2 separate regions of the Homo sapiens genome follow, and region 1 is linked to region 2. The links are contacts of gene promoters, found by promoter capture Hi-C in blood cells and fetal thymus (Javierre and others, 2016). All regions are on one chromosome and are shown on one strand. Each heading gives the region's core, a stretch centred on a gene start or on the middle of the fragment in contact. The rest is flanking DNA. Distances are from core to core; before and after follow the strand shown. Region 1 holds the start of GMCL1 (germ cell-less 1, spermatogenesis associated). Region 2 holds the start of FBXO48 (F-box protein 48).

The links. Contacts are between HindIII fragments. The CHiCAGO score rates a contact against its expected background, and 5 or more counts as called.
Region 1: the fragment with the promoter of GMCL1 here is called in contact with the fragment with the promoter of FBXO48 in region 2 in 1 of 17 cell types (fetal thymus); the score reaches 5.1 in fetal thymus.

The regions. Positions count from the first base shown.
Region 1 is chr2:69,827,938-69,834,241 of GRCh38, reverse strand. GMCL1 (germ cell-less 1, spermatogenesis associated) reads right to left here and starts at 4,582. Exons shown (of 14, transcript NM_178439.5): 1 at 4,090-4,582. The coding sequence starts at 4,349. It overlaps LOC124906021 (a long non-coding RNA gene), which reads left to right and starts at 4,711. Exons shown (of 2, transcript XR_007086846.1): 1 at 4,711-6,228. RefSeq lists silencers at 3,918-4,093, 4,041-4,120, 4,501-4,730 and enhancers at 3,704-4,624, 5,141-5,230, 4,625-5,546. The HindIII fragment of the contact is 7,336 bases long and covers 1-6,304 here.
Region 2 is chr2:68,462,584-68,469,585 of GRCh38, reverse strand. It overlaps FBXO48 (F-box protein 48), which reads left to right and starts at 2,292. Exons shown (of 4, transcript NM_001024680.3): 1 at 2,292-2,375; 2 at 3,116-3,442; 3 at 4,408-4,746; 4 at 5,216-7,002. The coding sequence starts at 4,441. The coding sequence ends at 5,377. APLF (aprataxin and PNKP like factor) reads right to left here and starts at 2,001. Exons shown (of 10, transcript NM_173545.3): 1 at 1,759-2,001. The coding sequence starts at 1,854. RefSeq lists a silencer at 1,717-1,926 and enhancers at 1,268-2,162, 2,163-3,058, 3,152-3,211. The HindIII fragment of the contact is 4,492 bases long and covers 1,031-5,522 here.

The sequences.
Region 1 (6,304 bases), core at 3,333-5,832, 1.4 Mb before region 2:
AGTGTGTTTCAAAAGACTTTTCTGTGTTTTTTCAGAAAAACCCGAAGCCATGATGAAGGAATATTGTTATTTTGACAAGAGTGGGGGAAAGGCCATTATAAACTCTAGGACAATAAAAAAGCAATACAAAAAAAGGCACTGTCCAAATAAGATAAAAACAAAAGCAGGGCCTGACTTTAAGCACTTGATGGAATACAAGAAAAGATTCCATATGACTGTGAGGTTAGAAAAATTTCTCCCTTTGAACAGACAAGCAGTTGTGACACTGGACCCATCAAGTATGATTTATAATCCTAGCATACTACTTAACTCTTCTGAAACAATATTTACTTAGTTATAACTATGTAATGTCGTTTCAATTTTTTAGAGACAAGCTACGGACAAAACACTCAAGATCTGGTTGTAGAACAGTGTGGGTTTTAACAGTCTCGTAAATGTAAAAGTAGAACATGCAGTTGACAAAGGTATGAGGTGGAAGTTGGGCCTAAAAGCTAAAACTTCTCATAAAGTGGTCTGTTGATGTGGGAGAGCACACCAGACAACCTCAGGAAGTATATACTAGGGCCAACACACAAAATTCAACATCTTAATACTTTCTCTTTTAAATTTTTATTTGTTTAGTTTTTGAGACAGGGTCTTACTCTGTTGCTCAGGCTGGAGCGCAGTGGCGCAATCTTGGCTCACTACAACCTCCGCCTCCTGAGTTCAGGTAATTCTCCTGCCTCAGCCTCCCAAGTAGCTAGGAATACAGGCGTGCACCACCAAGCCTGGCTAATTTTTGTATTTTTTGGTAGAGGCGGGGTTTCACTGTGTTGGTCAGGCTGGTCTCAAACTCCTGGCCTAAAGTGATCTGCTTGCCTTGGCTTCCCAAAGTGCTGGGATTACAGGCGTGAGCCACCACGCCTGGCCCGTCTTAGTATTTTCTTACACCCTGCATCCGTATTGGGCTGAATAATCCAAGCATCTTCCAGTAATATACAGACACTAAATTCTGATATGCATTTTCCGATAAAGGTTTGCCTTAAAAACTTTCCATTCCAGTCCACTCATGTAGTCTAGGAGTTGGTACACTTTTTCTGTAAAGGTCTAGATAGTAAATATCTTTAGCCTTCTGGGCCAAAAGGCCTCCAAATAATTTTGTTGGCATCCTAGTAGGCAGTGTCCTACTTGCCAGCCTCAGCTTACCACACTTGAGCAAACTTTTCCACCATCCAGTGGGCTACAGCCACACCTCCTTCAACATCATCTGAATCTTAGCTTGGGAAAGGGGTGGGGGCACCTATTCCAAATTTGTTCCTTCTGTGGCTATTCTGCCTCAGCCTTAGAAGTACTGACTACTACATGTATTTTCTAGGGATCTCTTTACCTTAGCGTTTTGTCCTCAGTAGTTAATTCTCTGTGCCTTGTTAATAATGTTTATATTAAATTTCCTGTATTCAAATTGCTGTGTGATTTCTCTCCTTCAAATGCACTGTGACATATATTTCAATAATTACGTTAAATATAAGTGGTCTAACTACTAATTGAAAGGTTAGATTGTCCTGTTGGACAAAAGAAGCAAGACTCAACTATATGCTGTTTACTTGATATCTGTTTTAAATATACACAGGTAAAAAGTGAAAGGAGGGAAAATAAGATATCATTCAGACATTTATCAAAAGAAAGTGGCTGATGGATACACTACAATCCCAGACTTCACCACTACTTGTTATATACATGTGAGAAACCTGCAGCTGTACCCCCTAAATATAAATAAATAAATGTATATATGTATGTATGTATGTGGTAGTGGCTAAATTACTAGGGATAAAGAAGGATGAACATTTTGTTATGATAAAGGGGCCAATTCATCAAGGAGACATATTTACTGCATGCTTACATTCTAGACATTGTGCATTTGTTTGTTCTCATATTTGTCAAAGCCTAAAAGGCAGGTATTTATATCTCCAATTTACATATGAGGGAAATAAGGCTATTAAGTGCAGAATACAGACAAGAAGTCAGAATTTTTTTTTTTTTTTTGAGACAGAGTCTCACTTTGTCACCCAGACTGGAGTGCAGTTGTGCGATCTTGGCTCACTGCAACCTCGCCTCCCAGGTTCAAGCCATTCTTCTGCCTCAGCGTCCCGAGTAGCTGGGATTACAGGCAGCTGCCACCACGACTGGTTAGTTTTTATATTTTTAGTAGAGACAGGGTTTCGCCATGTTGGCCAGGCTGGTTTTGAACTCCTGACCTCAGGTGATCTGTCTGCTTCAGCCTCCCAAAGTGCTGGGATTATAGGCATGAGCCACTGCACCTGGCCAAGAACTCAGAACTCTTAAAACTATGCTATAGGTTGGCAATGGTGGCTCACACCTGTAATCCCAACACTTTGGGAGGTCAAGGCAACAGGATCACTTGAACCCAGGAGTTCCAGGCCAGCCTGGGTGGGCAACAGAGTGAGACCTTGTTTCTACAAATAAAAAAATTAGCTGGGTGTGGTGGTGCATGCCTGTGGTCTCAGCTACACAGAAGGCTGAGGTGGGAGAATTGCCTGATTCTGTGAGGTCGAGGTAGAGTGAGTCATGATCCCACCACTGCATTCCAGCCTGGGCGACACAGCGAGACCCTGTCTCAAAATAGAGAAAAATTTTTCCAAAGGAAAAAAAAACTATGCTACACTGACGCTTCAAAAAGGTTACAGGGTCAGGCATGGTGGCTCACACCTGTAATCTCAGCCCTTTGGGAGGCTTAGGTGGGAGGATCGCTTCAACCCAGGCGTTTGAGACCAGCCTGGGCAATATAGTGAGACTCCTTTAGAAAAAAGCTCCAAAAATCAAACAAACAATTAAAAAAGTTACTGAATAGTATTCACAGTAGGGGTACATTTTTGTATAATAAATACAAATATTCATACAAAAAAAGGTACAAAAGGTTTTATAAACCAAACTATTAAGTTTTTAATCTATGATTCCTTTTTTACAATATATAACACTTGTATAGCAAAACCTTTTTGAATCTGCTTTTAAAGTTTAATTTTAGGCCGGGTGCGCAGTGGCTCACGCCTATAATTCCAGCACTTTGGGAGGCTGAGGCCAGCAGATCACCTGAGGTCGGGAATTTGAGACAAGCCTGGCCAACACGATGAAACCTGTCTCTACTAAAAACAGAAAACATTAGCCAGGCGTGGTGGTGCGCGCCGGTAGTCCCAGCTACTCGGGAGGCTGAGGCACAAGAATCGCTTGAACCAGGAGGTGGAGGTTGCAGTGAGTTGAGATCGCACCACTGCACTCCGGCCTGAGTGACAGAGCAAGGCTCTGTCTCAAAAAGAAAAAGAAATCATTTAAAAAATTTCATGTGTGACCCTACCAAATAACCTTTAAAAACAAAAGCAGAAAAACCAAATTGTTTGTGTAAGCATATATTCTACCTATAAACTACATTCCAGGTCACAAGTCAATATTCCATCTTTCAACTCATCCAAAAAAAAAAAAAAAAGGGGTTAAACAAGCTGCAGCAGCACCGCCCTACATACAGTACATCCACGGTCAACGACTTCATCAACTACTAGAAACTTGCACAGACTCTGTTCCTAGTTAGGAACAAATGTACACTATTGATAAACTTCACCTTTACAATTAACAAGAACTCCTGTGTGCAATTACTTACCCTCCACTGAGTGGGCGACAATAAGAGTGCCTATTTCAGAGATTACATTTAGTGTCTGTACTAAGGCAACCGGATGCAAAACAACTTACTCTGCGGCTACCCACTTGAGAGGGCAAAGGTGGACTGGGAAGGCCAGCCAGCCGGGCGTCTCTAAGGTTTAACGAGACGCGAGCTCGGGCTTGGCGTTTCTCATCCTCATCTTGGGGCTGTAACAACACCCTGGAAGCGTCTGTGGTTGAAAATGCGGAACACCTGGCGTCTCCCAAGGCGCTCCCCAGTCCGCCCCGCATCGGGCCGGCTTCCACATTCACCCTGTCAAGGGCACGTCCCCTCTCCATAGGCTGGGGAGCGCTGCACCCCGCAAGCGCACGAGGCGCCGGCTCGGCCCCAGGCCCAACAGGTGCGGGTCCGGGTCCGCGCGGGTGCGTGCCCCCACGTACCTTCGAGGGGTGTTGAGGAGCCGCTGCTGCTCGTCCCCCTCCTCCTCATCCTCGTCCGTCTCCGAGTCAGGGTGACAGTAGCAGAAGGACCCGCTGCTCCGCTTGCGCTTGTGGCTGCCCGCACAGTAACAGAATCCGTGGCCCGCCGCATCGTCTCCAGTGTCCGGCCTCCGGGCCGAGCCCCCCGCCCTGGCACCCTGCGCCTGCTGGGCAAGGGCTGGTCTTGGCTGGCGCAGCACCCGGCTGCTCAACGATCCCATGGGTCACGGCTCCCCGAGACTTCAGGGAGCCCAGAGAAGGGGGTCTCCCGCCATGGCTCGGCCGCCGCCGCCAGCCTTCCCCGAGCGCAGGTGCCTACACCGCCACCTTCTCACGCGCAGCCCCAACCGTTGCAGCGGACGCCACAGTCTCCATCCTCTTCCCCGCCCGCAGCGTCCGGTCGCGCCGCGCTCTAGCACCGCAGCACCTCGCCCCCTCGCTTTCGCAACAAAGCGCGGGACGGAGGGCGCATGCGTACGGCGAGCCTCCGGAAGGGGCGGGGCAAGGCGTGCGTGCGTGGCAGGTGGAGCCTGCGCACAATCCGGCGCGCCAGTGCAGGCTGGTGTTTTCGGGCCTGCGGTGGGCGTGGCCTCTGACTAACCCGAACTTCGGCGTAGACGTAGTGTTAAACCGTGGTTCATACGCGCCTCTGTAGTGGCAAGACCTGGGACTCCAGTCACTCATTGTTTCTACAAAGGTGCCTTGAGTCCCCGGTGCTTATGGGCCTGTGCTAAGCTAGTGGCAAAACCCCGAAGCTATTTGGTCTCCTTGCGGGAGCTCGGCGCTTGCTGGGGCCACGCTCTGCTTGCTTGGGCGTGGCCTCCTGTGAGAGGGGGCCCTAGGATGAGGCGATATGCTGGATTCCTGGGCTTCCTTAACATGAGCCCTCCCCTGCTGTAGACGTGAATGGAACCCGTTAAGTTATGGGAACGTTCCCGGCACTCCTTTCCTTTCCTCTCAAGTGCCAGTGGGATGTCCGAATAGGGTCTGGCACCATGACTGTCTGGACTCAAAAGTGCCTTCAGGAGGCCCTAGCAAAATTTACTAGTGTCTGCTTGGAGTAGTAGCAGCTCTTGTGATGGACTCCGGACAGCCAGCGTTCATTCCCTGACTCCCTTCTGTTACTTTTTAAGTAAAATAATGAAAATATTTCAAATAGAGTAATACAGATTCCTGTGGACCGACCACTAGCTTGAAATTTTATCAGACTTGCTTTCATTCTTTTTTCCTCCCAGCTTTATTGAGGTGTAATCAATGATTCATTCTTTTTTAAATAGAACAATACATATAGGCAGAAGCCCCTGCGTACCTCCTCCATCTCATTCTGTCTCCCTCCCCAGTGGCAATCACTGTGCTGAGAATGTTGTATATCATGTCCATGCATGTCCTTATATGCATACCCATAAATAATATTTTCTTTTGCATGTTTAGACATATCATGGAATGGAATCATAGTTGTACCTCTCATTGTGCACCTTTCTCCTCTCTCAAAATTATACTCTCAAGATTTATCCATTTGGTCAATCGCTAGATAATTTTCACTGCTCATTGTATGACTGACCCATATTTGTTTTTACATTCCTTAGTGAGAGAGGTTATTTCTACTTTAACGGCCTTACAGAGCAGCAATGAACATCATGTGCAATGGATTCACCAAGCAGATTCCCAAAAGTGAATTTGCTGCGAAATCTGCAACTTTGTTAGCTATTACCAAATTGCTCTCTGGGTTGATTGCATCAAGGTACCAATTTAGACTCCCATTGGCAGTATACGTAGTTTGAGGGTCCCCGTGGACTAATGTCTGATTCATGCATGAGAAATCTGAACCGAGAGAGGCTAGCCGAGGCAGCTTGGGGTGGAGGTGGGAGGCGGAGAATAATGGCTGCAGAGGGATCAGCTTGCATACACAGAATTTGCCAGCACAAAGAACGTGCAGGTGTTTCCCATGGAGCAGATGTGGACCACCATGAGACAGCTTAGGTCCTGCCCAACAGGCCTGGGAGGAAGGCAATGAACTTCAGCACTGAGAACCTCAAAGAGTCACCAAATTCCTAGAGGCTGAAAAAGGAGTACACATTTGCCTTGCCAGAGGAACCTCAGGTGAGTAGCGTGATGAGGTTGACAAAGGAACCCACAAGAATGCCCACAAGAATCAACTTTAGTCTGTCAGGGTCAC
Region 2 (7,002 bases), core at 1,043-3,542:
TTCATAACCACTTCTGATACACGCCAACCTTGGCAAAAGAATCTCATCCCTGAATGTTATTTCAAAAGGAAAAGCAAAATCTTGACCAGGTAATTGCCCAGCTTTCACTCCTTACCATTTTTAAAAACAGATACCAAATAGGCTCATCTCACATTAGCAAGTCGACAACACAAAGAACAAGCTACAAATAATGAAACGGTCTGCAATCTGTTGCCATGTTTCTAAACCACGGCCCTAAAATTCATCCACCTTTTAACCAGACCCACAGTACTCTACTGGTGACAATTTCTTAAGCAAGTCAAAACTCGTTAGTCACCAGACATATGATTACTAGATTAAGCACATACTCTTAAGTTTCAAACCTACGAATTTAAAAGAAAAATAAAGCCTCCAGACAGTTCCTTCCAGTGTTTGTATAGGCCAACAAACGATGAAAAAAATAGAAATGATGTTAAATATTTAAATAATCACTTGTCCAGTAAAAAAATGAACAGCAATTGAATATCTACTTCCTCAATAACCTTACCACATGCACATGTGCATGTACACAACACACAACACACAACACACACACACACACACACACACACACACACCCCTTTAGGACCAGCTTCCATAATACAATCTTAAACTACCACTCCTTTCCCTGCTCCCAGAAGGGACCTAAGGCAAGTACCAATGGTTCCATTTAGACTCTGGAAGTTAACCAGGACAACAGTACACACTCCTTACTCCTTGGTGTTAGCTCACTGACACAGGTGTCTCCCCGGTCCCAAGAGAAAACTCCTAAAGGGTAGGGACCCATGTTCCATTCATCTTTGTATGCCCCACAGTGCTAGAATCTGCAAAATGTTCTACACAGTGAGCACCAAACAAGAAATGTTGAATGTTAAAGAACAAAATAGAAAACTAGATGTACTTAAGAGATCTATAGAATTCCAGAATGCAATATGCAAATGTTCTTATTCCTAAACCTCTCCCAAAGAAGGTAGAGAATATTTAGCTTTGTGGCATTATGTGTCCAAAAGCTTATGTATGGACTTTAAATAATGTATGTATGGCTCAATTTTCTCATCTGAACAATGAGGATAATAAAAATAGCTAACTGATACGGTCTTGAGACAGTTAAAGATGTTGGTATAGGTAATGTCTCCTTAGACCAATGACACGAACGCTATACACATTACTTATGAAGGGTTAGCTACTCATTTTACTGGAAATAATAAATAATATAAATAAATAAGGTCCACACAGCTCTGCAAAGGAGACCAAAGGTTAAAAGAAATTAGCCTAGAAGACGTAATATCACAGTTTGGCAAACTTTTCTGTAAAGGACCAGACACTACTGTAAATATTTTAGGCTTTACAAGACAAGCCGCAATACCCTCAACCCTTGGAGCAACTATTCCCCCTGAAAAATTAGTAGATTTTTTGTTTACATTTTACATTTCAGAATTTAAGAATCATTCTTAGTTCATGGGGCCATACAAACATAGGCTGGATTTGGCCCCCAGGCACTAGTTTGCCAATCCCTGGATAAGATAATAATGGTAATACAGTCAGTGTTTTAAAAGCAACATAAAGAAATGTTTGTGAATTGGCTTAAAGGTAACTGAAAAACGTGCGGCCCCAAACTTCTAAAATCCGGACCGGCGGACCAGTGCGGTGGGGAAACCGGCCAGGACTAGGGCCGGTCTTCAGGAGCCGGCGCGGAACTCCACGGCTCTCGGGGTCCGCTAAGCCCCCGCCCACACTTACTCCCAGCAGCGGCCCGCGGCCGATCACCGTCTCCCCGGGCGCCAGGGCCACCCGGGGACCGCCGTCCCGCGGCTGCAGCTCGAAGCCCCCGGACATGGCGGGCAAGGATTAGGCCCCTTCGCCAGGAGACTGGCCCCTCCGCTGTTTCCGCCCTCCACAGACACGCGCGGGGCAAGCCCACGCCCTGGGAAAAAACACCGAGGGAGGGCCTCAAAGGCTCCCCGCGGCTGCGCCGGTCCTCTCAGAGCCCGGCCCCAGCGCAGCTTCACGAGTCCCGCCCCTCCACGCCTACTAATGACGCAACCGGGGATTCCCCAGTCTCGCCGCCTCAAAACTACTGTTTAAAAACCCCGGCTTATTCCCCAACACCCTTTTCACCTCCCTCCCATCTTGGAGGACGCCGGGCCTTGTAGTCCTGGTGGCTTTCTTCACTTCCTTTCCCGAGCGGAGACGCCCTGGAAAAAACTACCAATCCCCAAAGGCACTGCGCGCCCCTCTCGGCGCCTGCGCGAGTTCTGAGCAGGGCGGGACTCAGGTGGGCGGGATGCGAAGAGCTATGGGGAAGGATTCGAATTCCGGTGGATTTAAATCGCGGGAGGAGAAGCTACCGCGGCCTAGTAGGTAGAAGGGTCTTCCGTTCCCGTTGGCTTAGGTGTCTACGCTCCCGGGGACGCGGCCTGGACGCAAGCTCAGCCTTCCCTCCGCGGCCTGGAGCCGCAGTGACAGTCAACGCTGACGGTTGTTGTCACTTGTCAGTGCCCTGTGTTCTTGGGTTCCAGCAGCTGCAACCCGCGCGGGACACAAGGAGGGTGGCTCAGACGGGACGTGGGGTGATTAGCCCTGACCCGCGGGATTTGGACGGAGTGGGGCTCCCCGCCCCTCCGACTGCGCTGCCGCCGATCTATCCCTCCGAATGATAGTTGAAAGGGGGACGAGCTTTTACTTCACTTGAGAGAGAATTCAGGAAAGCTCAGTTCATAAAGGAGAAAGGGCAGAAGAGGGGTCGTTTCCAGGCATCCAGGCGAACCTGGACGTAGAAGAAAGATTCCTAGTGGGATTTTAGAAACTCGCAAAGGTATCCCCTGCTGTGAAATTCAAAAGCCTTCATTCCCGTTACAGGAATTCCACAAGGGGACGCATTTTATTCTCCCAGTAAGATCCTGGGAGAAGTGGATAAACACACTGTAACGTTTAAATGCACTGTAACGTTTTCCTAATGTGAGATTCTTTTCAAGAACGTTGTGGTTTGGCTTTGGTTTGTATTGGTGGTGGGAGGGGCCAAGGTGCATGGCAAAAACTTGCTCTTGACTCACCCGTTTTTACGTTTGCTTTCTTACTTCTCCTAACCCTCAAGAAGAAGACCTCTGTTGAACACAGACTGCAGTTCCAGCCACCACAGCTAATCTGGATCATGAATGGGAGCCACCGTGGTCTTGGCAAGTCCGAAAACATAGCTGAGTAGCTCGTCTAGAAAAGAGATTTGTGTTCAGCTGAGTTAAAAGAAGTATTTACCTCAAACCTCTCCTCTTGCACAACCAACCCCCGTTATAAAAGGAAGTGCAAAATGGAATAAACTGATTTTAAGTGAATACAAGCTGTCTTTATATACAAAAGTAACTCAAGGATGGTGATGTACCCAGTCATGCTTTCAACTGATTTGGGAAGCCTACACCATTCACCTTAGGTAAATTAGCTGAAACTGAGCTTTAAATCTGGGCTTCAAAGAGTCACATACTGTACCTAGCTGAGTTCTAAACATTGTTTACAGTTGTCACTCACTGTTGCTTGATGTCTTCAGTGACTATTATCCTTAGCTTGTAATTATGCATGTAGGATAGCTTCAAGGGGCCATTTCTAAAACACTACTCTTATGACTGAGTTGAATATTTGAGACTTTGTTTCATAATCCAGATCTCATCTTCTTGTCCATTTCAGATAGTAGTTGTGTCAAATGTAAGCACCTACCTACCTATAAGATACAAGTAGATAAAATTCTTATATAAACAACTAGAAGTCCAGCAAGTTTATGATTAAGTCACAAATTGCAAATTAATGATGAGGCATCAGTTCCCATGTACAACAAGTATTCAGGAGTTTAATAGGATTGACTCATATACATTTTCAAAGGTACAAAAGTACCGGGTATGGTGGCTCATACCTGTCATCCCAGCACTCTGGGAGGCTGAGGCAGAAGGATTGCTTGAGGACAAGAGTTCAAGACCAGCCTGGACAACATAGCAAGAACCATTTCTCCGTAAAACAGTTTTTGGTTTTCTGTTTTTTTTTTTTTCTTTTTTTTTTTTTTAAAGAGGGGCGGGGTACGCTGAGTCAAGAGAATCGCTTGAGGCTGGAGTTTGAGGCTGCAGTGAGCTATTATGACACATCTGCACTCCAGCCTGGGTGAGAGTGAAACTAACATGTTGGGTGCCTCCCATGTGCAATTCAGATGTAGCAAGACTAGATATTTTACCCACTATCACTGTTAATCCTTGCAAGAACTTTCAGGAGAGCGGCAGCATTGGCCCATTTTACAGATTGAGAAGCTAAAGTCAAGAAAGAGTTCTTAAATTATACCCAAAAAGCATCTGACTTAAAGTAGGATTTATACTCCTATTTGGAGACTGAGCATGTTTAAATTTTGCCTTTTAGGTTACATATGAGGATAACTTAAAACATTAAGCTATGCATAAAAACTCCAAGAGAAACAATAATTTAAGAGTTTCTCACACAGAAGCGAACTCTGTGGATGCTGAGAAGGAAAAAAATGAGAGTCAAAACAACTTTTTTGAACTGCTGCCTGCAGAAATCACTTTTAAAATTTTCAGTCAGCTGGACATTCGGAGTCTGTGCAGGGCTTCATTGACATGCAGGAGCTGGAATGACACAATAAGAAACAGTGACTCTTTATGGAAACCTCACTGCATGACTGTAAGAGCTGTGTGCCGAAGAGAAATAGATGATGATCTAGAAAGTGGTTATTCCTGGAGGGTAAGTTTAATCTTTGCGATCTGCAGTGTTGTTGACAGCGTTATGATAGCAGGTTTGCGCCAATTCTAACTTCTGCTTGGAGGAGTCAGAATTACATATGCAGAATAACACAGACAGTGTGTTGACTCTTGGAAATGAGTTAAAGTTATTAGTCTTTTCCTGCTAACCACACTGTTTCCACACTATCTTTCATTTATCCTTTTGCATTTTTAAAATTCTAAATTCGGGAATTTTCCTGCGTTAACCAGAAGGGAATTAGCTCCTTCTTTCCACTTCACCTTATGCCACTCAGTATAAATACACATATACATACACACACGTACACAGACACATACATTTATTAATGTACGTATATATAAATGTAAATACTCTTTTTTTCAGCCCTGTCAATCTGCTTCTCTTGCTTTAAACACATTCACTAACCAACCACCTACTACAGTCTTTTTTAACGGTGATTTACCTCTTTCAGGTGATACTGCTGAGGAATTACCAGAAGAGTAAAGTGAAACACGAATGGCTAAGTGGCAGATACAGCAACATTTGTTCTCCCATTAGCCTACCAGAAAAAATCATGTACCCAATGGATGCAGATACATGGGGGGAAATTCTAGAAGCAGAACTGGAAAGATAAGGGGAAAAAAAATCACAAATCTCAGGTCTTTGAAAGTTTAAAACTTAAATGACTCTTAGGTTGCAAAAGCGATATCTTTATTCGTTCATTTTGTTGTTCACCTTTTTAAAAGAAAATGAAATGGAACTATTATAAAAGTAAAGCTTTATTTTTGTTTTGCACTTTAGTAAAATTTTTCTGGTTTTATTGTAATGTGGAAAAATCATGAAATGTTATTTTTATAAGAAATAATATACTGATAGAGTGATTTCCAAATACAATGTTTCATGTATTTGTGTTAATATATTTGCAATACTAAATGTAAGAGTGATTTGTATGTTCAGCTTAATGATAATTCAAAATTTCAGGAAGCCACTTTAAACTGACTTAAAGATTCATTAAGTGGTGGTTATAACTAGGCTCATGGGAAGACTAGCTAAGTGAAATTAATAGCAATACATTTAAATTAATACATTGACATTTTAATGACTTTAACATTTCTATTTCAGTGGAATCAGATTGAAATGTCAAATAGTGAAACTATTTTTAATGTGTTAAGCCTGTGGTTTAGTTTTAAGTTAATGTCATCTCAGGGCTAAAGTTTGTCCAATTGAGATTCCCATTAATTTTATATAAACCTGGAACGGCTCTCAGGAGCTGAAAGTAAGTGGAAAGTTTCCAGAACACTTTACCATCAGAATGCCACACTAGCCTGGTAAAACTCTCTTTCTGACAGCCTTATAGCACCATCTAGTGTGCTATTCTTAGATAGCAAGACAAAGGACTTTCAGCTCCTTTTTGTTTTCTCCATATTAAAAAGAAAACTGTTATTCTAAAGAATCCTTAACACTTGTCTTTGTTAAAGTTTATAACTTTTTAGGAACCTTTATTTTAACTTTTAAAAACTTTTGTTTCTCTTTTTTCATAAAAACAGATTATATGCTACTCACTATAACAAATTGTTTATTCTGAATCTGTGGTTACCACCATAGTAAAAAAGTGTCTACAAACTGCTTTAGTTAGTGTGGGGTTTTCTTCTTAAAAACTGTTCTCTATAGCATTAAATATAAGAATCCAGGAAACCAATATTTAACAAATAGGCAAATATTAGAAAGATGCCCCACTATATGCAAATTCTGTATGTTGAATCAAGCAGTAGATAATTAATTGTCTCCTACTATCTTCTTAGAGTTGGAAGAGTCCTTGAAAATCAGGCAGTCAAGTGTCCAGGACTATTCAGTAATTTTCTCAATAGGAACACTGTCAGTCAGCCAGCCCAAGCTGAAATCCTGTACTTCTACTAATAGCATCTCTGTTATGTCACAGAACAGTCCAGTTGTAGTCTAGGCTTGCACTGAAGACCACCTCTCTGTAACGTTTGCCTTCTAGCCCCACTTCCACCCTCTAGAACCAGGCTGATTCAGTCCTTCCTGTCTATGATTGCCAGATATTTGAAGACTGATAGCCTGTCTCTTCCTATGTCTTCTCTCCAATTCCACTGATGATCATAGAGTATAATTTCTAGACCCAACAACATTCTCTTCTGCCCATTTACTCTTAACAAAAGAAAGGGGCTGTGCGCCATGGCTCACGCCTGTAATCCCAGCACTTTGGGAGACCAAGGTGGGTGGATCACCTCAGGTCAG